7 separate regions of the Homo sapiens genome follow, and all the other regions are linked to region 6. Evidence: promoter capture Hi-C in 16 types of primary human blood cells and fetal thymus (Javierre and others, 2016). All regions are on one chromosome and are shown on one strand. The core of a region is centred on a gene start or on the middle of the fragment in contact, and the rest is flanking DNA. Distances in the headings are between cores, read along the strand shown. Region 1 overlaps KCNJ1 (potassium inwardly rectifying channel subfamily J member 1). Region 2 has its middle 49 kb from the start of KCNJ1. Region 3 overlaps LINC02098 (long intergenic non-protein coding RNA 2098). Region 4 has its middle 8.8 kb from the start of KCNJ1. Region 5 overlaps LINC02725 (long intergenic non-protein coding RNA 2725). Region 6 holds the start of ETS1-AS1 (ETS1 antisense RNA 1). Region 7 has its middle 18 kb from the start of LINC02098.

Evidence for each region. The method cuts DNA at HindIII sites, captures the fragments that hold promoters and counts their contacts. A CHiCAGO score of 5 or more calls a contact.
Region 1: a fragment that was not itself captured here is called in contact with the fragment with the promoter of ETS1-AS1 in region 6 in 9 of 17 cell types (total B cells, naive B cells, naive CD4 T cells and 6 more); the score reaches 15.2 in total B cells.
Region 2: a fragment that was not itself captured here is called in contact with the fragment with the promoter of ETS1-AS1 in region 6 in 6 of 17 cell types (activated CD4 T cells, naive CD8 T cells, non-activated CD4 T cells and 3 more); the score reaches 10.4 in activated CD4 T cells.
Region 3: a contact is called between a fragment that was not itself captured here and the fragment with the promoter of ETS1-AS1 in region 6, in 8 of 17 cell types (non-activated CD4 T cells, total CD8 T cells, total B cells and 5 more). The highest score is 13.7, in non-activated CD4 T cells.
Region 4: a fragment that was not itself captured here is called in contact with the fragment with the promoter of ETS1-AS1 in region 6 in 2 of 17 cell types (total B cells and naive B cells); the score reaches 5.8 in total B cells.
Region 5: a fragment that was not itself captured here is called in contact with the fragment with the promoter of ETS1-AS1 in region 6 in 5 of 17 cell types (naive CD8 T cells, total CD8 T cells, non-activated CD4 T cells and 2 more); the score reaches 7.6 in naive CD8 T cells.
Region 7: a contact is called between a fragment that was not itself captured here and the fragment with the promoter of ETS1-AS1 in region 6, in 14 of 17 cell types (total CD8 T cells, non-activated CD4 T cells, naive CD4 T cells and 11 more). The highest score is 36.5, in total CD8 T cells.

The regions. Positions count from the first base shown.
Region 1 is chr11:128,858,066-128,861,839 of GRCh38, forward strand. The region is part of intron 1 of KCNJ1 (potassium inwardly rectifying channel subfamily J member 1); the gene reads right to left. The region is part of intron 1 of LOC107984409 (a long non-coding RNA gene); the gene reads left to right. Among named protein-coding and RNA genes, the nearest start is that of KCNJ1, 7.3 kb to the right of the region's middle. RefSeq lists an enhancer at 1,649-1,908 and a silencer at 1,809-2,103. The HindIII fragment of the contact is 4,002 bases long and covers 1-3,761 here.
Region 2 is chr11:128,816,882-128,820,613 of GRCh38, forward strand. No RefSeq gene overlaps it. Among named protein-coding and RNA genes, the nearest start is that of KCNJ1, 49 kb to the right of the region's middle. RefSeq lists an enhancer at 2,481-2,987. The HindIII fragment of the contact is 6,751 bases long and covers 1-3,732 here.
Region 3 is chr11:128,222,609-128,226,568 of GRCh38, forward strand. All of the region lies in intron 3 of LINC02098 (long intergenic non-protein coding RNA 2098), which reads left to right. Among named protein-coding and RNA genes, the nearest start is that of LINC02098, 16 kb to the left of the region's middle. The HindIII fragment of the contact is 3,793 bases long and covers 1-3,444 here.
Region 4 is chr11:128,874,097-128,878,136 of GRCh38, forward strand. No RefSeq gene overlaps it. Among named protein-coding and RNA genes, the nearest start is that of KCNJ1, 8.8 kb to the left of the region's middle. The HindIII fragment of the contact is 2,242 bases long and covers 1,386-3,627 here.
Region 5 is chr11:128,100,613-128,104,454 of GRCh38, forward strand. It overlaps LINC02725 (long intergenic non-protein coding RNA 2725), which reads left to right. Exons shown (of 6, transcript NR_183639.1): 2 at 630-772. Among named protein-coding and RNA genes, the nearest start is that of LINC02725, 6.8 kb to the left of the region's middle. The HindIII fragment of the contact is 683 bases long and covers 1,718-2,400 here.
Region 6 is chr11:128,523,962-128,527,923 of GRCh38, forward strand. ETS1-AS1 (ETS1 antisense RNA 1) reads left to right here and starts at 2,181. Exons shown (of 4, transcript NR_120581.1): 1 at 2,181-2,354; 2 at 2,572-3,457. All of the region lies in intron 3 of ETS1 (ETS proto-oncogene 1, transcription factor), which reads right to left. The HindIII fragment of the contact is 5,425 bases long and covers 1,780-3,962 here.
Region 7 is chr11:128,188,924-128,193,013 of GRCh38, forward strand. No RefSeq gene overlaps it. Among named protein-coding and RNA genes, the nearest start is that of LINC02098, 18 kb to the right of the region's middle. The HindIII fragment of the contact is 248 bases long and covers 2,307-2,554 here.

The DNA.
Region 1 (3,774 bases), core at 511-3,010, 330 kb after region 6:
CAAAGGGAATGCGAGAAGCTCCACGATGGCGAGAGATGGGGAGGGATGGGGCAGGATGGGGAGGGATGGTGAGGGAAGGCGAGGGTTGGGGAGGGATGGCGAGGGATGGCGAGGGATGGGGAGGGATGAGAAGGGATGCGGAGGCAAAGAACACTGGCAAGTAAGAGCAGCTAAGAATGAAGAGACAAGGAAATGCATGCTACAGACCAAGCAGAAGTGCCCAGAGAAAAACATCCACTCCTTAAGGAGGTTCGCAACACAGCAGTGAGCCCTACCATGAAAAACAGGCAAGAACAGTTAAATGTCAACTCTGCACCACCATATTTGATTGACGATTAACAACTGTTCAAATGGCACGTGTCTCCGTGGCAACAGCTAGGGTTTGTTGAAGGAGTGAATGGAGGAATGAATGAAAAATGGGAAGGGCACATACTTTTCAGAGTTATTTGAAGGTGAGGGAAGACAAGATGTATAAAAGAGACTGGCCAATAATAAATGTTCCATAAAGTTTTCTTGAAACTAGTTCAGTTGGGGTAATTTTCCTTCTCATCCATGGACCAGAAATCACTGACATTAACAGATCTCACTGTGTTCCAGGCGGTCTCCAGGGGTAAACTCAGTAGTTTACGGAGCGTCTATGTCACTCTGTGACATAGACAGCATTACTATTCCCAGTGTCTAAAGGAGGAGATCAAACACCAGAGAGGCTAAGTGATTGATCCAAGTTCACAGAGCTAGAAGGTTAGAATTTAGTCTACTATAGGACTCAGTTGGTAGCTATATGTCTACCTTGGGTTTAATTATTGGAAGAAACTCATTAAAACTCATCCTTTCCCATGTGACTTTGGCACAGACCTGAAAGGTGGTAGTGTATTTGCTACCAGACCCCCATGCCACCAGGCAGGTCACCCCTCTTATGTGATTGAAGGCACATAAGGGGTTGATTTCACTCTACAGGATTGGGGTTAAATGGTTAGTCCCTTCTAGGCATGGAATTCCCACAGGGGAAAAGGAACAGACACTTGTTGAATCTCTGTCACATACCAGCAACTGTGGTAGGGGCTTGGCAGAAATTATTTCATTCAATCTCACAGCGACCCCATGAAGTAGGTCTAATTTTCTCTGTTTGACAAGGAAGGGAACTGAGGTTTAGAGAATTTTAAAAACTCATATGAGGCAGAACTGGGGTAGGAACGCAGCTCTTTTTGAGACAGGGTCTTGCTCTGTTGCCCAGGCTGGAGTGCAGTGGCACAATCATAGCTCACTGCAGCCTCTACCTCCCATCTCATGGGATCCTCCCGCCTCAGCCTCCCAAGTAGCTGGGACCACAGGCAAGTGCCCCACTCCGGGCTAGTGTATTGATTGTAGAGATGAGGTCTCACTAGGTTACCCAGGCTGGCCTTGAACTCCTGGCCTCCAGCAATTCTCCTGCCTCAGCCTCCCAAAGTGCTGGGATTACAGCCCCGAGCCACCGCTCCCGGACAGAACCCAGATCTTAACCTGATGTCTCCACGCCAAGTTCCCTAAAGATCTGGCCCAGAAGATGAGTGAATTCCTATGTCTAAGGCAGGAGGGAAAAGGAAGGAAGGTCTGGGGGAAAGGCTGGCCCTCCCTCCTCACCTCCCTTCCCTGCGTGCCCTCTCCTGGCTAGCCCTCCCGTCTGCGTCTCTCAGGGCATCTGTAGTGGGAGCCGCCTGTGCTGGGCACTGGGGTACGGCCTTCTCAAGACCCAGGGAAGTGGGGGAGCTGGGCAGGAAATTAAAAGGAGCCAAATAAACAGAGTAATTATAGATTGTGATAAGGACTTAGAAAGAAACAGTAACTAGAAGTGACCTTGAAAAGTACCCGTAAGTAGGCACTGGTGCTGCAGACGGCGGGCAGCAAAGCGCAGGCGGGAGAGGAGGCGCGGCAAGGCCCACACTCGCCTCCGCCGGGCCTCCCGCTTACCAGCAGCAGCAGCGCCCCCTGGCGCCTGCCGAGGGCACTGCGCAAGAGAGGTCGGCATTGATTTCAGAAGGGCGCCCGGAAGGACACCTGTCTGGCCCCAGACCGGGCAGGAGCCAGGCCTCGGATTTCTCATCTGTCAGATGACAATGATGCTATCTACTTCCCAGGGCCATCGTTCAGATTAAATGATGCAGTGCTTGGGAGAATCCGGATGGATGAGCGACACTATAGAAACATGACTTGGATTTATGGCAAGAGGGACTTCAGTGAGACATGAAGAACTGTTGACTAGACAGGCCGGCAGGACACTGTGGCAGGTTTCCCGTGAAGAATTCCATACTGACAATGTAAAAGAGAGGCAATGACCGTCTGATATAAGTGCGTGACACTGCACAGGTTTCACTGTGTGAAATGCATACATGAGTTCTTGTAGAAATGAATTGATTTTTTTAAGAAGTGACTTAAGGGAAGGAAGACGTGACTTAAGGAACTCAGGAAGTCTCTGTGCCGTCACTAAGTCAGAGATTCCAGAAGATTCTCTCTGAAGAACAGTCACCAACTGGATTATTGAAAATTAGCCCACTGCCACCTCACGGGTGGGCCTTGTAACCCACATCAGCTGGACCAAGGGGCCTGGAGACGCAATAGCCTGGAAACAGGGTGACCCCAAGGGGCAGGCGGGATGCAAGCACAGAGGAAACAAGAAAATGCTGAAGGAAGCTGCTCAGAAAAGTGGAGGCCAGGTGGCTCTGAAACCCAGGTGTGACCACAGAGGAAAGTGCCCTGAAGGCCAGAGACCCAGCTCCAATTACCAGCTATGTGACAGGGGCACGCCCAGCCCCTTTCCTGATTTTCAGAATTTCCCTATCTGGGAGACGAAGATCATGTCGCCGGGGCCTGCCTGTAATACTTCAAAAAACACAAAAACACTCTATGCACCATGTAGAGGATTATTTTTGTGAACTCCAGGGCAGGGAGCATCAACAGCTCAGAGGCAGCACTGGCATCTGCCTCAAGTGTCCTGCCTTCTCTCCATCCCCAGGCACAAGCAGGGCCCACGAATGCCCAGCATCTGCTCTCCAGTCACTGGTGAAATATGGGTGGCATTCACTGTGTCAGCATTTGGAAATTAGCCCGCCTGTGGTCTGGCTGTTGGCGTCCCTGGGGCTCCCTAACCCACATGGCTACGCAGGCAAAGACAGAAACTCTGGTGCCGCCAGCTTCCGCCCGAGGCGCTTTTCTGCGTGGGGTGCTGACTGAGCAACTGAAGCAGGGCTGCAGCATTCACTGGCAGCTGAGACCCAGGATTGGGGGCCCTAGTGGGGCTGGGGTCAATGGGGATGGTACCATGGAGGGGCATGAGCTGGGACATTTAGAACAGAAAGAGAAACATGCCGAGTGAGGAGGCAAGATGTGAGCAGCAGGGCTAGCGGGTATCCCTGGGACCTCAGACAGAAAGGAAGCTGCAAGGGAGCTTGTACCCAGTGATCACAGGCTCATTTATGGGATAGACCCAGGCAACCTGAAGAAAGGCAGAATCAGAGCAATAGCCAGAGGTGACTGTCGTCAGAAACATACCCCTGCTCCTGGGAGCCACTGCAGAGCGGGATAACTGGGGCTCGCCTCCCTGGTGCAAGCCCAGGAGTGAGGGCCTTGTGATAAGATTTCCAAAAACACCAGCCCCGTGCCCTGCCTGTCGGTAAGCGGCCACCGGAACCCCTCCCAGAAAGATAGATGCAGGCTCCGTGTCTGTAGAAGTTTGTGTCCATTTCCCGCTGAAATGGACTCCTGCCTCTCCACACCCCTAAAACCCAAGCTTCTTCCTGA
Region 2 (3,732 bases), core at 571-3,070, 290 kb after region 6:
AACAACAACCTTTTCCTACATAGTCCAGTATAATCAAGAGAATCGAATAACTAATGCAAGCGGATTACTCCTATGTAATCCCGAGGCACCATGCACTGTTGGCTGATTGTCACCACTGCAGTCTTTTGGAGCAAAAGGTTCCCATTCTAAAACACTGATTGTGTATAGCTGTCATCTACCATTAGTCTCCCTCGGTCTTTCAGGTCTGTGACAATTTTGAATATGACAGGTCAGGTATTCTGTAGAATGTTCCCCAATTTGGGATTGCTGGTATCTCTTCGCGATTGGATTGAGCCAAGGCTTTTCTGAGAGGACCATCGCAGAAGTCATGCTGCCTTCCTCTCCTGTATTCCATTGCATGGTACATCATTTCAACGTATCCCGTTATTGATGAAGTTCACTCTTTGTTTAAGGTGGTGCCTCCCAGCCTTCTCCTTTGAAAAGTTATTCCTTTACCCTTTGTAATTAATAAGTATTTTGCGGAGGTTTACTTTCAAAATATGTAAATATCCCATTCAACATCAAATTGCAAAGTATTCATTCATTTATTTATATCTCTAAGACTCATGGCTCTCTATTTTATTGAGTGGATATGATCTGTTCTTTAATGATTACATTGTCCCAATGGAAGGATATTCACGCTGGCTTCTGTCTCCTTTGACATGTTCCCATCAGTCTTTAAGTGCTTCCTTACTTTCTCGCACAACAACTTATTTTGGAGTTTCTGCCCTAGCCCTGGAATTAGTCATCTCCTCATGGATTCCTAGTTCTTTTTAGTGGAAAATGCTATTTAGAACCCAATACCTGGGGGATAGATGTGCCAATTGCTAATGGGGTGTCCCTGCTCCCAGGCTCCCTCAGTGTACAGAGCCAGGCAATAGACGTAGATACATACATACACATATATTATGTATGTATGTATGTGACTATATGCACTCACGTACATACATACATATACAGTCATGCCTTCCTTAATAACGGGGATACATTCTGGAAAATGTGTCCTTAGGTGATTTTACAGTTGTGAATATCATAGAGTGTACTTCACACACCTAGATAGAACAGCCTATGACACACCTAGGCTACATGGTACAGCCTATTGCTCCGAGGCTACAAACATGCACGGCATGTTACTCTACTGAATACTGTAGGTGACTGTAATACAATGGGAAGTATTTGTGTATCTAAACATGGAAAAGGTACAGTAAAAATATGAGGATAAAAGTTAAAAAATGGTACACCTGTATAGGGCACTTACCATGAATGGAGCTTGCAGGACTGCAAATTAATCTAGGTGAGTCAGTGAGTGAGTGGTGAGTGAATGTGAAGGCCTAGGACATAACTGCACACCACTGCAGACTCTGTCAACATTGTACACTCAGGCTACGCTAAATCTACAAAACCTTTTCCTTTCTTCAATAATAAATTAACCTTAGCTTACCGTAATTCTTTATAAAGTTCTAAATTTTTTAACTCTTTTACTCTTTGGTAATAACATTTAACTTAAAACACAAACACATTGTACAGTATAAAAATATCTTCATATCCTTATTCTATACACTGTTTTTATTTAAAAAAATATTTCGTTTTACTCCTTGAAATTTTTGTTAGAAATGAAGACATGAATTCATATTTAGCCTATATCCTGCCTGAGGCTGTTTTACAGTTAACTTTCTAAACATGTAAGTAGGCATTATCTACGTATATCTAAAATCTATCATTCTAAAATAATGATAAAAATCTATCATTTTAAAGTAATGATACATAAACAGTAACATAGTTGTTTACTATCATTATCAAGAATTACGTACTCTACACCTGCTAGACTTTCATAGACCGTCAGGGAAGTAGGTTTGTTCACATCAGCGTCACCACAGACATGAAGATTGCATTGCACTTCCACAGGGCATGAGCACCGATGTCACTGGGTGATGGGAATTCTTCACCTCCTTTATAGCCTTGTGGCACCACCATTGCATATGGGGTCTTTCACGGACCTAAACATCTTTATGCAGTGCATGACTGTATATGCTTATACATTTATATCTATATTTATTTCTGCTATCTATATGACTATGCATATACATCTATTTCTGTATTTATTTCTACTACCTATCTATATTGAAACCCTGAGTTCACTCAGAAGCATTCATTTCTAATCCAACACTGGATGTTGATTCCCCTTTTGTGTCTGTAATTCCTTTATTTGACAGTGAAAAGAATGGTTTCCATTAGACATCCTATAAGCCCTTCCTTGTCAATCCTTCTGCATGCACCCGGTCTTCCATCTCTGCTGCACCCCTCACCTCCATGCAACGTGTTCATCTCCCTGCATTGGCCCTAAACTCCCATCCAGGCCACCCCACTGCATGGGCACCCTCCTCACCCCACCCCAGGCAGTGCCTCTGTGTGGATGTTGTTCTCACCCTGTTCAAGCTCTGATGCCCCAACCCAGGCAACGCCTCCACAGGCAAACCCTCCTCAACCAGCTGTAGCCCTGACAGCCAGGACAGGCTGCACGCCCTGCGTCCCATGCTCTCTTTACTCCACTTGGGCACTAACACTTCCCATCAGGACGCGCCACACGGAAGCCCTTCTCACCCCGTTCAGGCTCTGATATCACTACCCCCTGACACCTGCCTTGCTGTGCTGCACCCATGGCTCCTGCAGTCAAGACTTCAGTGGGAGGGGGAGGAAGAGGGAAGGAAGGGGAAGGAAGAAGGGAAGATGCGTGCTTACACATTTACAACAGCACATATCTCATTGGGTGTGTGTATGTGTTGCCCATGCATGGCAAAAAGGGACCACAAGATCCATTAAACTGTAGTTTTGCCTGCTTCCATATTCTCTCTCTCACACACACACACACACACACACACACACACACACACGCACACACCCTTGTGCCTTTTGAGATGCAGAATCTGGCAAGCAGTTAGAGAAAGGAGAGAAAGAGATGAAGGAGTAGTTAACCAGAGAGGCTAACAAGATAATAATAAGGAACGAGGCACAGACAAGTGGAGAAAATGAAATGTTAAAATCTTGTTTTAGGTGTGCAGGGGAGAAATTGGAAGTGTGGCTGGTAAGGATGAAAAAGCAATGTTCTGGGTTATAACGTTAATGTTTTTGATAGAGGCTGGGGTGAAGAATGCATGGCTTTTTAATTATTTTTGGTTGTTGTGTTCTGTCAAGAGAGAGTAATACAAGACCCCAGGATCTATTTGTATCTGAAGTCTGTGTCCTCCATTAGACAATAAGGGAATGAAGGGCAGAAACTTTGTCTAACTCTTTCTTTATAAGCCAGTGCCTGGCTTCTAGAAAGATCCAGAACATGTCTATTTGTCAAACTACACCTACTGGACAAAACGTGTCCAAACCCAATACAGCTGCCCAGAAATTCTGAGGGAAGCATGAGCTGTCCGTTCTGCTCAGTTACTGTTAATTCCGGAAATACACAGAGAAAATAAAAATCACGGAAGATGCAGTTAAAGTATGGAGCTAGACCACTGTTAAAACTTGCCAGCAATTTTTACCAATCCAATCTTTGGTGTTAATTGGTTTCCCCAGAAGATGCAATATCTCTTTCCCCACTGATGATTATATTGCCCAGAGCCGCTGGCTTTCAGAAATGTTTAATCAAGCATTGCATATATTCAAGCAATACTTTCCAGACACCTCAGCTTTTCTTGACAGCGTTACCTTCCTTCGCTCTTTCTTTGTCTCTTTTAGGAA
Region 3 (3,960 bases), core at 298-2,797, 300 kb before region 6:
CTCTTCTATGCTCAAGTAAGCCCTTAGCTGCAACTGGAATTCAGAGTATTTCCACTTCAGAATATCACACACATTTCGGAGGAAATGGGGGATTGACTTAGCCTGGAAAGATAAGGCATCAAGGAGATCTCAAAGGAGAAAGCAGTTTTTAGCCTCTCCACACAGTGCATTACTAGGGCAATCACCAAACATTTAACACCTGCACTGTGGCTTCAGCAGGGAGCCCTGGCTTCTGCTTGGTTACCCCTGCTGAATTCCCCTCAGCACAAATGAGAACTGGCTGTGATTTCTTTCTCTTTTTTAAATTTTAAGTTATTGGGTGCATGTGCAGGATGTGCAGGTTTGTTACATAGGTAAATGCGTGCCATGGTGATTTGCTGCACCCGTCACCCCATCACCTAGTTATTAAGCCCAGCATGCATAAGCTGTATTTCCTGATGCTTTTCCCCCTCCGACAGACCCCAGTGTGTGTTGTTCCCTTCCTGTGTCTATGTGTTCACATTGTTCAGCTCCCACTTATAAGTGAGAAGAAGTGATGTTTGGTTTTCTGCTCCTGTGTTAGTTTGCTGAGGATAATGGCTTCCAGCTCCATCCATGTCCTGCAAAGGACATGATCTCATTCCTTTTTACGACTACATAGTATTCCCTGGTGTATATGTACCATGTACCACATTTTCTTTTTCTTTTCTTATTTTATTTTATTTTTTTTAAGAGACAGAGTCTCGCTCTATTGCCAGGCTGGAGTGCAGTGGCGCAATCTCGGCTCATTGCAACCTCTGTCTCCTGGGTTCAAGTGATTCTCCTGCCTCAGACTCCAGAACAGCTGGGATTACAGGTGCGCACCACCACACCCAGCTAATTTTTCATATTTTTAGTAGAGACCGGGTTTCACCATGTTGGCCTGGATCTCCTGACCTCGTGATCCACCCACCTCGGCCTCCCAAAGTGCTGGGATTACAGGCGTGAGCCACCGGGCCCAGCCACCACATTTTCTTTATCCAGTCTATCATTGATGGGCATTTGGGTTGATTCCATAGTTTTGCTGTTGTGAATAATGTTGCAATATAACATACATGTGCATGTATCTTTATAATAGAATGATTTATATTTTGGGGGGTATATACCCAGTAATGGAATTGCAGGGTCAAATGGTATTTCTGGTTCAAGGTCTTTCAGGAGTCACCACACTGTCTTCCACAATGGTTAAACTAAGTTACATTCCCACAAATAGACTTAAGATTACACTACAAGGCTACAGTGACCAAAACAGCATGGTACTGATAGAAAAACAGACACATAGACCAATGGAACAGAGTAGAGAACTCAGAAGTAAGACCGCACATCTACAACCATCTAATCTTTGACAAACCTGACAAAAACAAGCAACGGGGAAATAATTCCTTATTTAATAAATGGTGCTGGGAGAACTGGCTAGCCATGTGCAGAAAATTGGAACTGGACCCCTTCTTTACACCATTTACAAAAATTAAATTAAAATGGATTAAAGTCTTAAATTTACAACCCAAAACTATAAAAGTCCTAGAACAAAATCTAGTAATACTATTCTGGAAATAGGCACAGGAAAGGATTTCACGGCAAATACATAAAAAGCAATTGCAACAAAAGCAAAAATTAACAAATGGGATCTAATTAAAGAGTTTCTGCACAGCAGAAGAAACTATCTCAGAATGGGAGAAAACTTTTGCAGTCTATCCATCTGACAAAGGTCTAATATCCTGAATCTACAAGGAAATTAAACATGTTTATGAGAAAAAAAACCATTAAAAAGTGGGCAAAGGATGTGAACAGACACTTCTCAATAGAAGACATTTAAGCAGTCAACAAACATATGCAAAAAACCTCAACATCACTGATCATTAGAGAAATGCAAATCAAAACCAAAGTAAGATGCCATCTCATGCCAGTCAGAATGGCAATTATTAAAGAGTCACGACTTTTTTTTACAAGCCAAGACATCACTTGTCATTGGTTATAGGTCTCTCACAGCTGCCACTAGATATGGCTATTCTCAGAGCCAGTCCTCACTTCAGATTTCGTATCATTCCTGCCTGTTTTCTACCTTGGCTCCACGTGTAAGGGATTGCTTACCACAGGAACATATGTTTTCCCCCTCCTCTGTATCTGTGTAGAGAAATATGGAACATGTATTTCTAAAGAAGAAAAAAAGAACTTTTTTCAAGTACAAGGCCATTTTAATGCAGATTTAGAAAAGTAAAAGTGAAACTTATGTGAACATTTTGAACCTGCCATTACAGATAAAAAATTAATTCAAGAATCATAACTAGCTGGTAAAGTAAACATTTACACAATTGACACATTATAAAAAAATCAAGCAGCAGCTAGGTGCAGTGGCTCACACCTGTAATCCCAGCATTTTGGGAGGCCAAGGCAGGTGGATCAACTGAGGTCAGGAGTTCTAGACCAGCCTGGCCAACATGGTGAAACCCCATCTCTACTAAAAATACAGAATTAGTCAAGCATAGTGGTGCATGCCTGTAATCCCAGCTGCTTGGGAGGCTGAGGCAGGAGAATCGCTTGAACCTGGGAGGCAGAGGTTACAGTGAGCCAAGATCATGCCACTGCACTCCAGCCTGGGTGACAGAGCAAGATTCCATCTCAAAAAAAAAAAAAAAAATCAAGCATAATAGAAGCAATCAACACACAAATAAATCAACAATAGCTAAAACTCCACACAGTAAAATTGTTGAAAGTGAAACATTGGGCAAAGAATCACCTTATGATTAAACAGACAAAAAATAAATTTGATAGAAATCATTTTAGATAGACTGAAAATAAGCAAAATTATACACAGTAAATATTGATGACAATAATATTTGTTAAAATATCAAAATATTCTCAGAAATTTAGGTAACATTTTTAGACATGAAATTTGGACTTTGTAGAAGTTATGGCCACAAAAGATAGTTTACAATTGCATATGGGTAAAAATTGATTTAAATTCAAAGGAGACATTTTTTATAAAATTTACAATAAAAGGGATTTGTCCAGATGAAAACAAGTTTAGTAAAATAATTTTTTTAAAAAAATTGAGGCAATTTAACTCTGGATACCAAATTGATGAAGGAATTAAATAACCTTAATGTCATTTTCTCCAGAAATTTTTTTTCAGTTAAAAAATTATCAGCACTAGTATATGTAAATAGAGTGTTAAAATATACTCAGTCTAAGAACAGGCAGATGTTAATAACTGAGGTGCAAAAAGGGCCAGATGCACTTCCCATGGGGAGTGAGCACAGAGCCAACTTCTTATATAAAACCAGGAGTCGAAACATCCTTCATACACTCTATACTACCTCCCCTGACGCTTCTTCAATGTCCCCCCTCAATGTTTGTCACCTCAGCCTCTGCTGGGGTGATTCCACTATCATGGATCCTCTCTCCAGAGAATATCCTTAAATGCCAAGCTTGCATTCTGGTAGATTGGTCTTAAATTCTGACACACACACTCTCGCATTCAGCCTCACACATAAAGGTATGGAGGTTGAAGCGGGTAACAAAGTAGTCTTCTGAGATGCAGTGAAGATAATTTATTTCTGGTTATGGAGTCTCATTTGAGTCTTGCAACCCTACAACTGCAGTAGGCTCCAGCACAGAGTGACAAGACAGCCATCCACCCATCTCCCTCTATGAAGAGGAGAAACTGAGACTGGGGAAAGCTGGGTGACTCGTGGGGACTGGCATGACAAGTTGAGGGGGCGAGGGTAATGGAAACATTCATTGTCCTTTGCTAGTACTTCTATGGAAAAACAAATTATCACAGTTAGTTACTCTTAGTCAGCCCTGCACGCAATTTAAAGGCAAGAAATATTTTTCTTTTCTGCCTTTCCATCCCACTTCTCAGAGCTCACTGACACTTCTGGCCTTAAGTTAGCACATTGCCCTGGCTTCATCATCCTGCCGAGGCCGGCCCTTTCCAGC
Region 4 (4,040 bases), core at 1,257-3,756, 350 kb after region 6:
GGGCAAGACGAAGCAAACGCCCTGATGGTGGATCTCTATGCCTTGCCCTGACCATGGGTCTCCATGCCATTCAGAAGGAGCATCTGATTTGCCCTGAACCACAGTTGCTCACCTGAACCACAGCTCCTGGAGCCCTGGGAGTGGTAGCCATCCCCCCACACCCCAACACACCCCAAGTAAGAATGGCACAGTAACTAGCACTGAGTGACTCGGGGGTATCTTCTCCCAGCATCCACTTTTGGGTAGGGGGAAAGGGATGAATCCTCTGCGTACAACTGTCACCATCATCTGCATTTTGGCATCTCCCCCTATTTTCTCCCACAAGCCCCTCTAAAAATTTCGCTGAGGGCAGAGAACTTTTTTCAGAAATGCAGCTCCAAGACTAATGCTCATAGTTGGACGGTGTGGTTGTGATTTTTTTCTGGTGGATAGTATTTCCTCTCCTTGACTCCAGCTCCAAGGGAGGGGTGGTCTTGTTTAGTGATGTGGAAAACATGCTTGGCAGCTGCAAGAGTCAGACAGGAAGAGCCAAGCAGTGTCCACTGGCGAGTCTCATTGATACATGACTTCATCACCACAGCCTCATGGGTTTTGCAAAACTAGCTCACTGACATGTATTCAAACACAATGAGACTGAGTTGCATCTTTGCTTCATGCAGCCACAAATCTACAAGCTGTTTCCCATCCATACATAAGGCATCCCAGGCCACTGCTCTCTACAGATTCTGACCTGTGAATGCCCTTCTTTGATTGAGGAAGGGCAGCCATGCAGATGACACCACTGGTAGCAAGGCACATCACCTAACAGGCCCTCCAGCTCCTAAATGGAACAGGACAGAGGGACTCTGCTGGAAGAGGCTCTTCTACCTTTGAGGCCTCATTTTCTTGAAAGCTCCTGTCTGGTGAAAGAGTGATGGTAAAATCCAAATGTGTTTGTGACAGAGGAGAACTGGATAATCCACTGAGATGACAAGAAGGAAAGAACATTGCTATATATTCTCACAAGGGAAAGGTTTTGAGAAAGCCACATGCAAGAGATAAAAATGCTTTCCCTCTGAAACCTTGCCTGCCACTGCAGATGAAAGCATCTCACTCAGTGAGAAATTCCAGGTTGAAGACCTTTTTTTGAAAAAGAAATCGAATTGAATGCAGGGAAAATTTGGATGATTCCATTTAATTCATCCAAAGCTTTTTGAGGGCCTTACTAAATAAAAGGCAGCATGCTAGGCACTTTAGGAGTTGCAACGATAAACAAAACATGGCTCTTGCCCTTTAAGAGTTGAATCTCTTATAGAAGAGAAGACAGTCACAAACATAATAAGGCACAAATGCATAGGAAGGGTTATGAATATACAGAAGTTCTGTCCAGCTGGGAAAATTGGAGAAGCTTCACAGAGAAGGTGCTGTTGGACTGGACACTATAGAAAGATTAAAATTACAGCAGGTGGTCATGGAAGGTGGGGAGTAGAGGAAGGAGAAGCAGCATGGAGGCCAGAGAGTAAAGGGGAGAAAGCCGGGCTTAAAAGAAGATGTGCTGGCAGACAAGGCAGAAGGGCAGGTGGGAACAAGGTGGCAGGATCTGCTGTGCTGGGGAGGGTGACCTTTCATCCTTCCCTAACTGTGGAGACCCCTCCACACAGGCCCTGTGGCCTCCTTCTGGGGCAGGGACCAGCTCTTGGAATGCAGGAGCCAGGGGCCTTTCTGTAGGAGGAAGCTCACCACTTCTCTTTGTTTCTTATTGTCAATCTTGAGGAGTTTTGCCACGTTTTCCCCAGAATTTCATATTTACAAATATTGTTTCATATTTTGACATCCCTAGTAGGTTTTTGACAGATACAAAATGTTTCCTTCTCTAGGATATTGTGCAGACACATCCCATAGCCCAAACTTCACACCCAGAGACACATAGTAGGTTATTCACGGAGCCCTGACACTCACACCAGTCAGAAAGGGCATTACACAAGGAAGAGAAGGAGCCAGAAGCCCTCAGGCTTGGCCTCATTCTGCTCTCTCCCAGGCTTTCTAGAAAAAGATGTGGTCCCTCTGCAGTGCCCTGAGGCCTGCTTGCCTCTCAGAAATGCTCTGGAGACTAAATAGATTCTAGTCAGTTTCCCTGAAGCAAGCGCTTCATCAATGCTAAGCAGCACGGTATTTTTCCATCTCCCCACCCTTAGAGATGAATAGGGTGCCGACGCCGCAGGCTGTTCCCTTTAGGTAGACCGCGTGGAGCGCCCAGTGGACTCGATAGCGCTGTCCTGGGAACAGAACCTTCCCGGACTGTGCACTTTTAACCCTGCAGGTTCTCAGCTGTCTGCCGTCAGAAGGAAAGCATTCACACTCCAGTTCCCAGGAGACTGCAGCCAGGACGCTTGGGTTTCCACCACGGATTCCTCTGCTGAGGGGCTGCTCCGCGGTAACTTTCCTCCCGAGAAGCACAGGAATGAAACGGCGATGAGCCCCGTAGGTGAAGATGATCGTCTGTTCACCTGCAGTTCACAGAACCTTTGATGTTACTCTATCGTCTGGATCTCTTTTGCCTGTGAGGGAGGCAGAGAGGTATTTAGGCATGAGGCAGCAGAGGTTTAGCAAGAGGTGCTCCTGGAGGGCCTTGAACACCCATCCTAAAGGGGTCCTGGTGTTGTCGGTGGTGAGACCAGGGGTCAAGGCTGCACTCAAGCACTAACTCTGTGAACCTGACTGCTCAGTAGTTTCCATAGCTAGGTACCACACCAGCAATCTGAAAAGCCTTGGACCTCCACTCCCCAAGCAGCTGCTTCCTGGAATGAAAAAGAAAGGTTCATAGATTCACAAACTCCCTGCATTGGAAGGGAATTTAGAAGTCACCTCTGGCCTGCCCATATTTCCTGTGCTTTCTGCCTCAACAACATCCGCCCAAACACTCCAGCCTGCAAGAACCTTCTTCACACCTAGCCCTCGGGGCCCAGCCCTCTGGAGGTGCGCTCCCACCTGCTCCAGTGAAATAGGACCATCACCTCCTTCATTCTAGACATCATGCTCCTATTAATGCCCCTTAGAATTCATAGGGTGATTTGTATTGAGCTAGAAGTGACTTGTTTCATTTACAAGTGCTAAAGAACCCGTACATCAGGAGGCTGAGGCAGGAGAATCATTTGAACCGGGAGGCGGAGGTTGCAGTGACCGAGATGGTGCCATTGCCCTCCAGCTTGGGCAACAAGGCAACAAAAGTGAAACTCCATCTAAAAAAAAAAAAAGAACCCATGTGTCTCCCAGCCTGCACCTTCATGGCTTGTTGGCAGTTAACTTGCACAAGAGAACACGGATGATAGATAGAGAACCAGGGCTCAGATCCCAGACTCCACCTCCACTGTGCAATGGAAGCATAAATACTAAGCAGATCATAAAGACAAAATACTCTCTCTCAGTCTTCGAACATTCAAGAATTGGGGTGAGGAACTTGGCAAACCTCAGGGAAGACCTAAAATGTCTCCACCCCAGTGCCTGGGCTTGGTGGTGAAATCACAAGGGCAGGTTGGAGAGTGCCTCCTCTTTTTTTTTTTCCTTTTACATTTCTCTCCTTTTTGACACATTTGGAAAAAAAAAAAACCTGATAAGGTCTACCAAAAAAAATGTGGGCAACTTACTAGAAGCTTAAAGAGTAAATATATAAAAATAAATCTCTGGGAAAGGCTGGTGTGTATATAGGTCGTCTGAGCACTGTGGCAGAGATGGCTGTCTGGTAGGCTGGATTGATGAATACAAATAGGGCAGGAAGACAGGCCAAGAGCCCCACGGTGGCTTCACCACAGAAATTCTACTTTTCATTCTGAAGATGTGGCCTCACTGCTTTCCTGACCTCTGTCCCCAGCAAGCAGAGGGGAGACAGCAGCCTCCCAAAGCCTTCTCCATGAAGGCTTCCAACCCCCAAGTCAGCGGTCACGCCCTCCTCCCCTAACTCTCGCACTCTTGCAGGACTTTGTTGCTACTTCTCAGGTTGCTTTTATCTGTGATCATGGCTTTCTCCTTTACTGGCTTGAAGTCCTAGGAGGAGAGTAGGGACC
Region 5 (3,842 bases), core at 809-3,308, 420 kb before region 6:
GATTTTCCAGAATGGCTCTGACATCCAACTAGGGTACTTTTAGACCTCTTCCAGCGCCATTGCACTCTCTTGTCAATCAATATACTTGATTTTTTCTTTCTTTTTCTCTCTAGACATGAGCTCCTTCAGGGAAGAAAGGTCTGTTCCATCTTTATATCCTATGTATATGTCATGTAAGGTGTTCTAGACAAATTTATTAAATTAATAATTATATGAATGTATACAGTTTTCTAAAGGAGTAATTTAACGTTTTAAAAATGTGTACTTTGATCAAGGCTTTAATGTAAATGTATGACAGAACTGGAAGTAAAAATGACTTAACTACTGACTTATCCCTGCCTTTTTTAAGAATTATGTTACTTATTCTTGGGGAGCATATGTATAAGTATTCATGTTTTATTCAACAAAACATTATTAAGTGTCTTACGTGACAGGAACATGATAATGTATGGGGATAATAGTGGACAATATGCCCTATCTTCCAATTTTTCCTTATTTCCTAATCATTATTTGGTTTTCAGAAATGTATTTTAGTTGTTGGATCTGTGCTATAGGGCAAAAAGAAAAAAAGTAAAATAGATTTTGTTTTCAAATTTTTTGCAGGAAATAATTTTCAAAATTTTTTGTAGGTTTTGCAGAGTGCCTCCAGAAATAAAAGTGTTACAAAAGAATCACTTCAGAAAACCTACACTTAGAGAGTCCATTTGAAAATTGCCCTATTTGAAATGAAGTGGAGATCAGTAATAACAAGGACTTCCCCATATAACCCAAGGTAAAACTAAATGCAATGCCATTTCCAGCAACACATTATGAGAACGGGATGTCTTTGGCTTTTAGCTTCTTCTCCTGTTACCTCCTTTCCTAATTCTTAATATTTAAGCCAGAGCCAACTCTGCAAAGTTTAGCAGAGCAATCAAAATTATGAATTTTAATAGAATGTAATTTGAAAGATTTTTGCCTTGTGAAATAGGTATTATTTGCTTACCAGCACTATCTGTAGCATCTAAAGTTCTAGAGTTTTCTTGAAGATACTTATAATTTTTCCTATCACAGTCCCATTACAAGGGTAATATAGTTTAGTTTATGCTGGTTTTACTTTTTTAAAAATCAGTGGGCCAAGTGTTTGATTTAGTAACTTGGAAAAAGGTTCATATTTTTTGAGTCTCCTGGAAGCTCAAAGCATATTTTTCAGGGTACAATTTAACCTCTGAGCTATTTGGTTTAAACCATTTATTTATCTGTGGTTAGGATTAGAGTTTGACTTATAGTAGCTTCAGGAAACATGTTCTGGACCTTTACTCTTGACCAATTTACCTTCAAATCCAAACCTGAGGATGACTGATTAGAATAGTCTGTCAACTTTTCAAAGCAACAGTGCTTCATTCTTTTTCAAGAAGTAAGGTAAGGGAGAAAGATATTTCACTGCACATCAAAATAAATAAAAATATAAATCTTTCATTGGGTTGAAAAATATTTGTCCTGGGGAGAGTTTAGACCCAGCTCATCTCACTCCATTGTGCTATTCAAAAATAACAGTCAGAGGTTAATATCGTGGCCAATTTCTATCTGAATAGCACTAAGGTGAAGGAAACTGTTCTCCCCAGAGCAAGAGGGCTTTGGGACTCACATCTTAAAGATTTAAATGACCACTTTAGAGTTATCAGGAGTCCTGTGAGAAGAAATCATTTTAATTCTGCATGTTGCATAATGCTCTTGAAGCTTATATTCTAAAGAAGATGACAGTCCATTAAAAATAGTTTGACTATATATAATTTCAGATGGTGATAGAGATGAATTACAGTACGAAGCAAGGTAATACAGAAAATCATAGCATGAGGAACTAGAGTTAAATAAGTTGGAAGAAAGAATCTGGAGAGAATTCTGAAGGATGAGAATCTAGTCACCGGGCAATTTGGGTTGAGTATACCAGGCAAGGAACAGCAAGTGTAAAGGCTGTGGAATGGGAATAGGTTTGGGACACGCAAGAAGAAGCAAGCAAGCGAATACAGCTAGAACATAATAAACAGAGAGAGTGATTGGACGTATAGGTGAGGGGCAGGTCACATAGTATCTTCTAGGCCCTCAGTCAGGAGTTTGTATTTAAGATACAAAGAAAAGTCATTGGAGAATGTTATGCAGGAAACTTGATATCATATTTATTTATAAAGGATAATTATGTCTGCTGTGTGAAAAAGGGTCTGTGGGAAGTCAAAAGCAGTGTCAGGTAGACCAGATAGGACTGAGTGAGATAGGTGTAGCCTGGTCAGAGACCAGGTGAGAGGCTGCAGCAGGCTGGGCTAGAGATACAGCTGTGCAGGTGCAGAGAAGGTCCTGGATTCAGAATACATTTTGAAGACAGAACTGACAGAACTTGCTGAAGGATTAGATTTAGAGAATGAAAGCTTTTGGCCTGAATCATTGGGTGAATGATGATAATACTTATTCATTTAGAAACAATAGAGAAAGAAGCAAGTTTAGAAAGAAAAAAATAAAAGTTTTGTAAGTTTTGTTTTTGTTACATGAGTTTAATGTACTTGACAGCCAAGTAAAACTGTCAAGTAGGCAAGTAAATTTTCAAGTTTGAATTTATAAGAGTTTAGGGATAAAGCTATATTTCTGGGAGACATCACCACATAGATAATTAATATTTAAAATAAGGTTGCTGGGTGAAAGCAAAAATGTAGCTAAAGAACAGCAGGGTAAGGACTGATCTCAGGGGATGCCAGCATTTAGAAGTCAGAGAGAGAAGGGGATTCAGCAAAGAAGAACTGGAAGAAATAAGCAACCAGGTAAGAGAAAAAACCGGGGAGTGGGTTGTTCTAAAGTCAAATGAAGAAAGTGCTTGGAGGATGGGGTAGTCTCATGTCAAATGCTGTATGAAAATTGAGTAAGATGAAGAGAGAATGGTTGACTGGATTTAGTGAGATGAATGTCTTTCGTGACTTTGACAAAAATGGTTTCAATGCAGTGGTTGGAAAAAATCTTGATTCAGATGGGTTGGAAGGGAAAGCATTTCAAGGTGATGACAATGACTATGGACAAATCATTTGAAGTTTGTTTGGTGTGAAGTGGGAAGAGAAATGAGGTGGAAGTGAGAGGTTGTGAAGCTGTACAGGGATTAAGAGGGGATCTTTTTGTGTTTAAGATGGAAACTATTACCCTGTGTGCTGGTGGAATTATCCAAGGGAACGGAAAAAGTATACTTTTAACTTGGGATGAAATTTTTTCGGGAGGAAAGAGTGGATGGTATCTTGTGCATAAGTGGAGAGAGTGACAGAGAGAAGGGACCAAGTCCTGAAGCACGGCTAAAAAAAAAAAAAAAAAAAGCTGTTAGAGACCACTCCATATGCAAAGAAAACACTCCATAAGAGGGGCACTTTGTCAAAATCCCAGCCGTAGGCTTTGATCCTTGAAGTAAACAGCAAAGATAGAAACTAGAGCAAAATGGGAATAGAGAGGACAGTCTTCATGTGTGTGAGGGATAGGCAAATTGTACTTAGTGAATGTAGCGACTCCCTATTTCTAACGATAGATCATTTCTAGATTCACTGGTGAGGTCAAGCTCCCTTTGAAGCAGACTTAACACAACTGAGCTTTCCCACTGCAGTACTTTGGCGCAAGCTGACAGAGGCAGTACCAACAGAATTGATTATCAATACATAGTGTTTGTATTTACACTAATGAATAATTAGCTTGTATTGATTGGTTTGTTGATGGGTATAAGAAAGATTGTGAATATCATCCTCTTAATAATCTGATGGGTTAAAGTCAGGCATTGCTGCCAGCATCTGAAAGCAGGAGGAACCAACCTCAAAGTATAAAAGTTAACGAGGATAAACCCA
Region 6 (3,962 bases), core at 931-3,430:
GAATTCATCAGGAGAAGAAGTGAACAAATCTAGAGTTGCTTTGGGGAATTTTGTTTTGTTGATGTTGTATTGAGAAAATGTTGGCATTTTTTAATCCAAGTGTGAGTACTTCTCTATTTTCAAATGCAGATTCCTCAGAGCAACTCCTTTCTCTCTTCCCCAGTTTGCTCCTCAACTTTCTTCCCCAGACTAGCCTAAACACTGCTGCTAACATCCACCCAAATTAGATACTAAAAAAGCCCACCATGATTAAACTGTAAACACTTTCCACTCTAGCAATGAGGAAAATTATTCTTTCTAATTCTTCCATAGTGACAACTCAGATAGTCAATCATCCGTTTCCTAATCCAGTCCTGAAGCACAGAAACAAAATGAGTGAATGTCCAAATCAAGGAATAGGGTTGCGTAAAGCAGCAGTTTGGAGAGATAGCCAGGCGCCACCACAGGCTGCCAGGAAAGTTACCTCCAGATGATATTAATTATGAATATTTATGCCATCAGAAGTTATGCATCGAACCCTGGATTTGGATGAAGAGCACTAATAAGGTCATGTTAAAATATTTTTTACATATTTAAGATATAATAATCTGATCAGGTCTGCCAGGGTCATGTTTCATTAATCTAATCAATGTTGATAAATGAAATTTTTATTCATTCTCTTTAGGACACAAGTAGATTTTTCTAAATGTTCATATGGACTTTAAATGATATTTCTATGTTATCATACGCTAAAACATTGATGCCTAGCCTAGTGCCTAAGACATTACAGAGCTCAATAAATATGTGTTGAATGATGAACTATCAACTTTTTGGTCACTATGGGCTTCCTAATTCAATGATTAAGTGAGTTTGATATGCTCTGGCTTGTGAAGATGAACTAAAAAGTGTCAGAGGCTGTGCCCTTTTCCCTTCATAGTAGAGCAGAACCTCTATCCCCAGCACTCACGTCCACTCGGTTACATGTATGCCTCAGTGTCCCCACCAGCCAAACAACAGCAGCCAAGCGTTGCCTTTCATCCACTTGGGCAAGATACTTCAATACCATATCTGGTTTTTAAGGCACTCAGGAAAAAAAAAAATCAATCAAATAAATACTTCTGTGCTTGTGCTTGTACTGCAGCAGTCTGTTCCTCCTGCATTTGGGAAAAAACAGAATTGTATTTTTAAGCATTCCTTAGACTTCGGCTAATTATATCCTACCAAGTGCTGAATTGCCTTACACTAGGAACGTGAAGTCAATAAGGGCCAAGAAAAGTCCGCAGGAGTTGGGGAACAGAAGAGTGGAGCTAGACAATAATATTAAGAAAATAGTCACCTTCATACAGGAATTCCTCAAGCACATGGAGTATGTAAAAAGCATACTTTCTTTTTTATTTATACTCCTCCCTCAACTCCACCCCAACTTCAATAAAAAAGAAATATAAATATACACTTAATGTTGAACAATCATGGAAGACAGACTTTCCCTCTCCAGAAGTGTCCTAGCATGTTATCTACTCCTGAGTCTTGAACTTCAACAAAACAAAGAATCTCTGAGTTTTGAGCTAAAATATGCTTTACTGAAGGTAGGTACAAAAACATTCAGACCACTAACGGCTGATCCAGAACCAGTTTATGACTCACAGATGTTGATTTACTGGTATAAATGTAAGATTTAGAAAAAAAAAAAAAAAAAAAAAAGCCCTCAATTAACAACAACCTGTCTGAGCTGCATTTGTGGTCTCATTTTTCTCTGAGAAAAGGCAACAGTCTCTGTCATACACAGAAACAAGCTTTGAAAGCTTACTTCTAAGGCAAGTGGTTTCTATGTGAGAAGTTTAGTCATTAAAAGTCACACTAGGGAAGAAAAATGCCTGGCACTTCAATATCTACATTATCAAGCAGCAATAAAATGGAAAATTAGAGATAGGAAGGAAAATTAAAATAACTCTCTTAATTAAACTTGGATGCCAAAAAGCCTTAGGGTCAGTTAAGGGACCCAAGCCAGGGGACTCAGATGGTACTGTTGCTGACTGCAGGCTGGCTCTGTGACCTCACCAAAGCCACTTAACCTTTTTGTGTCACAACCTCATCTCTGTTTCAGGGAATAAAATCAGCCCTAGCTCTCCCTAGAATGGAACACAGACTCATTGGCTATTGTTTAGAAGGCACAATAAACAATGAGGGTAGGAGGAGCTGCAGTCAGGAGGGAAGAAGGGAGGGTGGGGTGGGGTTGGGGGAGAGGGGAGGACTTGGGAGCCTGTTTGCCCTGGAAAGCTCAATATAAGAAAACAAAGAGGATAGTAGTGTGGGCTTTGGAATAAGACTCAGGTTCAAATTCTTACTCTACCAACTAGCCAGCTGAATTGCCACAGGTAAGTCATTTAAACAATCCCGAACCTCAGTTCCTCCATGTTTCAACTAGGGATAATAGCAGCACACACCTTTTAAGGCTATTTGAATGATTAAATGAGATAATGTATGCAAAGAATTTAGCACAGTGTCTAGGTGAGAATTAGTATTTGATTATTGTTATTAAGATCTAGTATACGGTAGAATATGTGGGAAATCACATTAAATGTCTGTCTACAGCCATCTCTTTGCAGAATAGCTTGGATGCTCAATTTTCCTGAACGATCTCCAGCGAGAGATAGAACAACTATCACCACATTTCATTTAAAAATCTCTTCAAGACCCTTCCTCAGTTCTTAAACTGGCAACCTGCCCAGCATCAGCCTCACTTGAGAAATTCGAGAACTACCTGATTGGAGAAGAGAACTAGATTTATATTTGTTTTGAGTCACAGAAAAGTGACAGTTTAAATTCTGAAAGAAGATCACATTTGTAGTGCCTCTTTGGAGACAAAACCTTAGGTCTTGGATTTGTCACATGTTAGAGCTCAATGGGAGTTTATCAGTGCTCTCCAAGTCCAGCACTCCTATTTACCAGAGGTGAAAAATGAGTGTGAGTGAGGAAATTATTATTTCCAGGGCCACACAATCTAAAAAAGTCAGTGTCAGTACTAGAACCAGATGCCCTGATAGCAGTTCTCTCCCTGGCATCTCCTTGCATTTACTTTGCATTTCACTTTGGCAGGAGAAGTACCAGACACCCTTGAGACACAAGACAGGATACAATGGACATGGGAGTAGATAGATGAGCAGACTCAATTTCTAGAAATCCAACTTCTCTACACTGGATGTATTGTCTTTGGGCAAATACATTGCAGGATAACCACACTATGGTTCCCTGTGGGAGACAGCTTGGCATGGGCTGTCAGGAGAGAAAGGGCCTGGGTTGGCTCTATTGCTGTCTGCAGTTTCTTTAGACTATAATTATGAACCATTCAACTGCATCTGCAGCCCCAACAATGTGGGGTGGATTGGCCTAATCCACAGACCAAGCGACATTTTAAAATCCAGCAGTTTAGACACGTATTCCTCTTGCAGCAAATCAAACATGGCTCAGACAGGAAGAGGTAAGGAGCTGCCCAAGGTTAGAGGGTTCTGAGGTCTCATCCACACTCAGTGTTGTGTGCTTCCCTGAAGCAGGCTGAGCATGTTGCCTGGAATTGCTGCAAATGCAGAATGCAGGCTACTCTGTGAGCCTTTGGGGATCATGTAATTGGGATTCCAATTTAAATTGTCCTGAATTGGACTCTTGAGGAGGTAGAGGGATAATGGCAATAGCACAGATGGCAAGAGAACCAACATCCTTTAATAATATGAGAGAAGAGGACAGCCAGTCTCCTAGAAGCTCTGCATCCCAGGGCTACAGGATTTCACCCACTGTCCAAGGCTGCAGGTGGTTTCATCCTGGTGGAAGGCTAAGGCCTTCCTCTGATCTTACTCTGCTTTTCTCTTGGGTTACAAAGACAACATCAAACTTCAAAACAGATGTTCTCTGCAGTTGTGGTTTGAATCTTACATTAAGACAATTTCACTGTGGAATCTTTTCCCCTCTCCCCACTACTTTCATTTAAA
Region 7 (4,090 bases), core at 1,181-3,680, 330 kb before region 6:
TCTCCATGGTCCATTTTCCCAGCAGGGTCACTTTGGCACACAGAGAAAGCGAAGGCCTGGGAACAGACTTGCAAGGAATTATGGAAAACATATTTGGCTGAGACACTTTGCTTGACTTCTACAATTTCCATTGTCCCTGCCCATGTTTCCAAATGACAAATGTATCTCCAATTGAGACACTGCAAAGTGCCTCGTATATAGTAGTTATTAATTATATGTGATATAAAATTATATATACATATACGCATGTAATTATGCATGTTTTTATATGTAATTATGTATACATATATAGTATGCATATGTGTATATATACACATATAGTATGCATATATGTACATATACATATATACATATATACATGTATGCATATGTGTATATATACATATAAATACATATATACAAATGTATATGTATATATACAATGTACACATGCATATGTATATATAAATATACATATACATGTATATGTATATTTGTGCATATACAAATATACATATACATGTATACGCATATAAAACATGCATATATATTAACATATTCATATGTTAATATAAAATATGGATATGTGTATATATACACATTATATAGATATATATAAAATAGAGGCAGAACTGACTTTTCTCTGCTTTAAACTTTACTGTAGCTACCAGAATGCTTTTGCATATAGTAGGATCTTATTAAGCATCTGTTGGTTGATTGACTAGCTAATTGTCTAGCTGGTGGGCAAGAAGAAGTAACTTGTCTTCGTATCACAAGGCCAAAAGTCTATAACAAAATGTTAAAGTAAATTCACCAAAACTTCTATTCCAAACAACAAGAAAAATATCTGGAACATATACAAAATTAAAGAGACAAGAAAGAAAGAAACCAGTAAGTACCTTTTTAGTCTAGAAATCTTTTTATTTAAAAAAAAGTTATTTTCTTATTTATTTATATGGCTCCAAACCTAGAGATCAGAAGGTGTTGTATGACTGGCTGGGGATATCAATGAAACAGATTATGATGTATGCATGAAGTGTGCATGCAGGCCAAAGTAGAACTTGATCCTGTGCCTCTCTGACAAAATAGGTGCTACTCACAGCTTTTACTTCCCTTTTGAAAAGGGCACTTCTCAATGAGGGGAGAAAGGGCACTTCTCAATGAGGGGAGTAGGCCAAGGGGGGTCAAGTTTCAGGACAATGTTTCAGCTCTACATGGGGCCTAGAGCAAAAGATCATAACGCACGTTTAGGTCTACACAAGATGTTTCTCAAGAAATGTTTTTGTTTAAAGTTTGTTTCCTACAATTCTCTCACGCACGTGCATGCACGTGCGTGTGCACGCGTGCACACACACACACACACACACACACACACACACAGCTTGTAGACTCTTCGTTATGGGGAATGTCAGGAAACCACACCCTGAAAGATTTTCTCTGTCTTACAATATTAAGGGATCATGACCATATTAAAGTCCCTTCCAGTACAGGGTTTGTCCATGTGAGCTTCTGAGAACAGGCGAGCTGTGGTTTTCTCACTAGCACAGAAGAGGTGAGAACACAGCCTTGGAACCCCTCCTTCTCACCACCGACCCTCATCAAAGGGCGTATGCAGTGCTCACAACCAGTCCTGGATGAGAGGGCTTCAGGCACTCAGGAGAACCAGTATCTAGACCACAGAGCAGCAGGGAGAGTGTGGCCACCTAAAGATGTGAAGGCACCGTAAAGACCCACTTGAATCTTTGCTCACCTCAACGCCATCCAACAATTGAAGCCTGGGCAAAGTGAAACACCCATCTCCTGATTCAGTCTCTTGGCTCTTGGTGAGCCAATGCTCACCTCTTGGCTTGAAGTCAGAGTGAGGGGTGTCAATAGGACTCCCTTATGTCCCACTTTCCCCACATTTCAGTTCCTGGCCCTGGACCCCACTCTCCACTTGACTCCATCCCAGATAGCTGATGCTGGTTCTCCCACATCTCCCCTATCAGGCAGCCAATGCTGTTGCCTAATTTAGCACAGAGTAAATTTATTTTGCCTTTATACTTTTACAATATGTTTAAAAAATGTGGACTCTGTTTCTCAGTTCAAATGTGATAATTGATTATGTCACGTTGAAAGATCAGTTATCTGTGATCTCCTGAAATAGACATATTAATGTTTGAAATTTCTGAAATGATAACACATTTCAAATAGCTTTTTAAAAAGATTACCATTCAGTTGCATGTCCCTGAACTCCTGTGGCAGACAATTCTACCATTTTTCATTTTCTTCCTTTTGCTATGAGGTGGCACTACGTGACCTAGATTTGACCAATGGAATAAGGGTGAAGCTTATATATCAGAATTTCTGGCCTGGCCCCCGGAATCCCATGATCTGCTCTCTGCTTGTTCATGATTTAGCAGATTGAAGAGAATCTGGAGAACTGCAACTCCCTGGAGTCCATCGAGTCAGCAGATGGGGGACTTCTGAGTCCCCACTTCAACAAATGTGATACAATGGACGAAGTATCACTTCTCCACCATTATGGACTGACGTTGTATACAAATATGAACGAGAAGTAGATCTTGCTCCATTAAGCTTCTGAAATGTTAGCATGATTTGTTACAGCAGTGGGCCTTTATTGAAGAATCCTAGCCCATTTCTAGAAATTCCCGTCCTGACTCTGATCCGCTGCACAAAACTCACAAGTTCTCTTGTCCCTAAGGCTATTTCTTTGTGGCTTTATGGTCTTGACCTTCCCTAGCCTCACTGAGCTGTTGCCTGAGCCCCAGCTTTGACAAGAAGTAGCTATCTGTAATATCTTTATATAAATAGCCGGGGCTGAAAGAAAGACTGTGGGAAAAGAGAAAATTCTCCTCCCATACTCATCACTTCCCTCCTCTTACACCCCTGGTTTTAAGTGCCCATATTTTCTAGGTCTGAAATCTCTGTACATCTCTCCATAGAAACCTGATGATTTGTGGAATTATTGTTTAATTTCCTATTCTTTCATAAAAATTTGAGTTCATGCAGTTAGGTAAATATTTATTAAGAATTATCTGCCAAGTGTTCAGGTACTATATTTTTAATTTACTTTAAAAATAATGTACTTTATAAGAACAGACACAGTTTTATTTGAAGAGGTTAAAGAAATCGGGGCAAAAGAAGAAGGCAGAAGAAAGCTCACCTGCAAAATACACACAGTATGACCTGATGAACATGTGAGAGGTAGTCCACAAATTTGACAGTAATACATTTACTTCTTGAAAATAATGTAATTCAAAATCAAAATATTTGGGGATATTTTTGATATTCCATATTTTGTCCTTTCAGGTATTGGAGGTCCGCTTAAATGTGTTTTTCCATTCTGAATGGATATTGAAAAGCTCTCGAAAGCACAGATGCCTGGGCCACCACCAGCTCCTTAAGTCAGAATCTCTAAGGCAGGACAATTTAAAAGCCTTTAGTGATTTTTATGTATACCCAGGGTTGAGAATCACTGTTTTTCTAAGCATCTCCAAATACTGTACGAATTGGCATAAAAATCTCAAATATATTCATATTATGTCAATTAAAAATTATTTCAAAACTAAATATATTCAAGTCAAATATGACACATACACACATACACACACACTCTCATGTGTGTTGAATCAACTGTCACAAAAATCCCATGAAACCTCAACTAGAAATTACACAAAGGGGATAAGGATGATAGCCACCCCTCAGACTGTGAAAATTAATGAGATAATGGGTATAAAGTAAATATCAAACTATCCAATAAATGTCTATTGTTATTGTTGAAATAATAATTAGCAATTAAATATTAATTGACCTTCTTTGACCCCTGAACTCCTGCAGGTCATTTTCAAAACGGCAGCCAGAGTGATCTTTTTAAAATGTAAGCCAGATAATGTCATTCTACTCAAAACTATCCAAGGCCTTTTCATCTCGCATGGAATTAAAATCAGGGTTCTTACCAGGGCCTACAAAGAGCAGTAGGATATGCGCTGTCCTTTCTGATACACTCTCCACTGCAGCCTCCATAGTTCACTTTGCTCAGAGGGACAAGTTCTCGTGTTTCCTTGGACAGGCTGGACATTCCCCACCTTGGGGGCTTTGCACTTGGTTT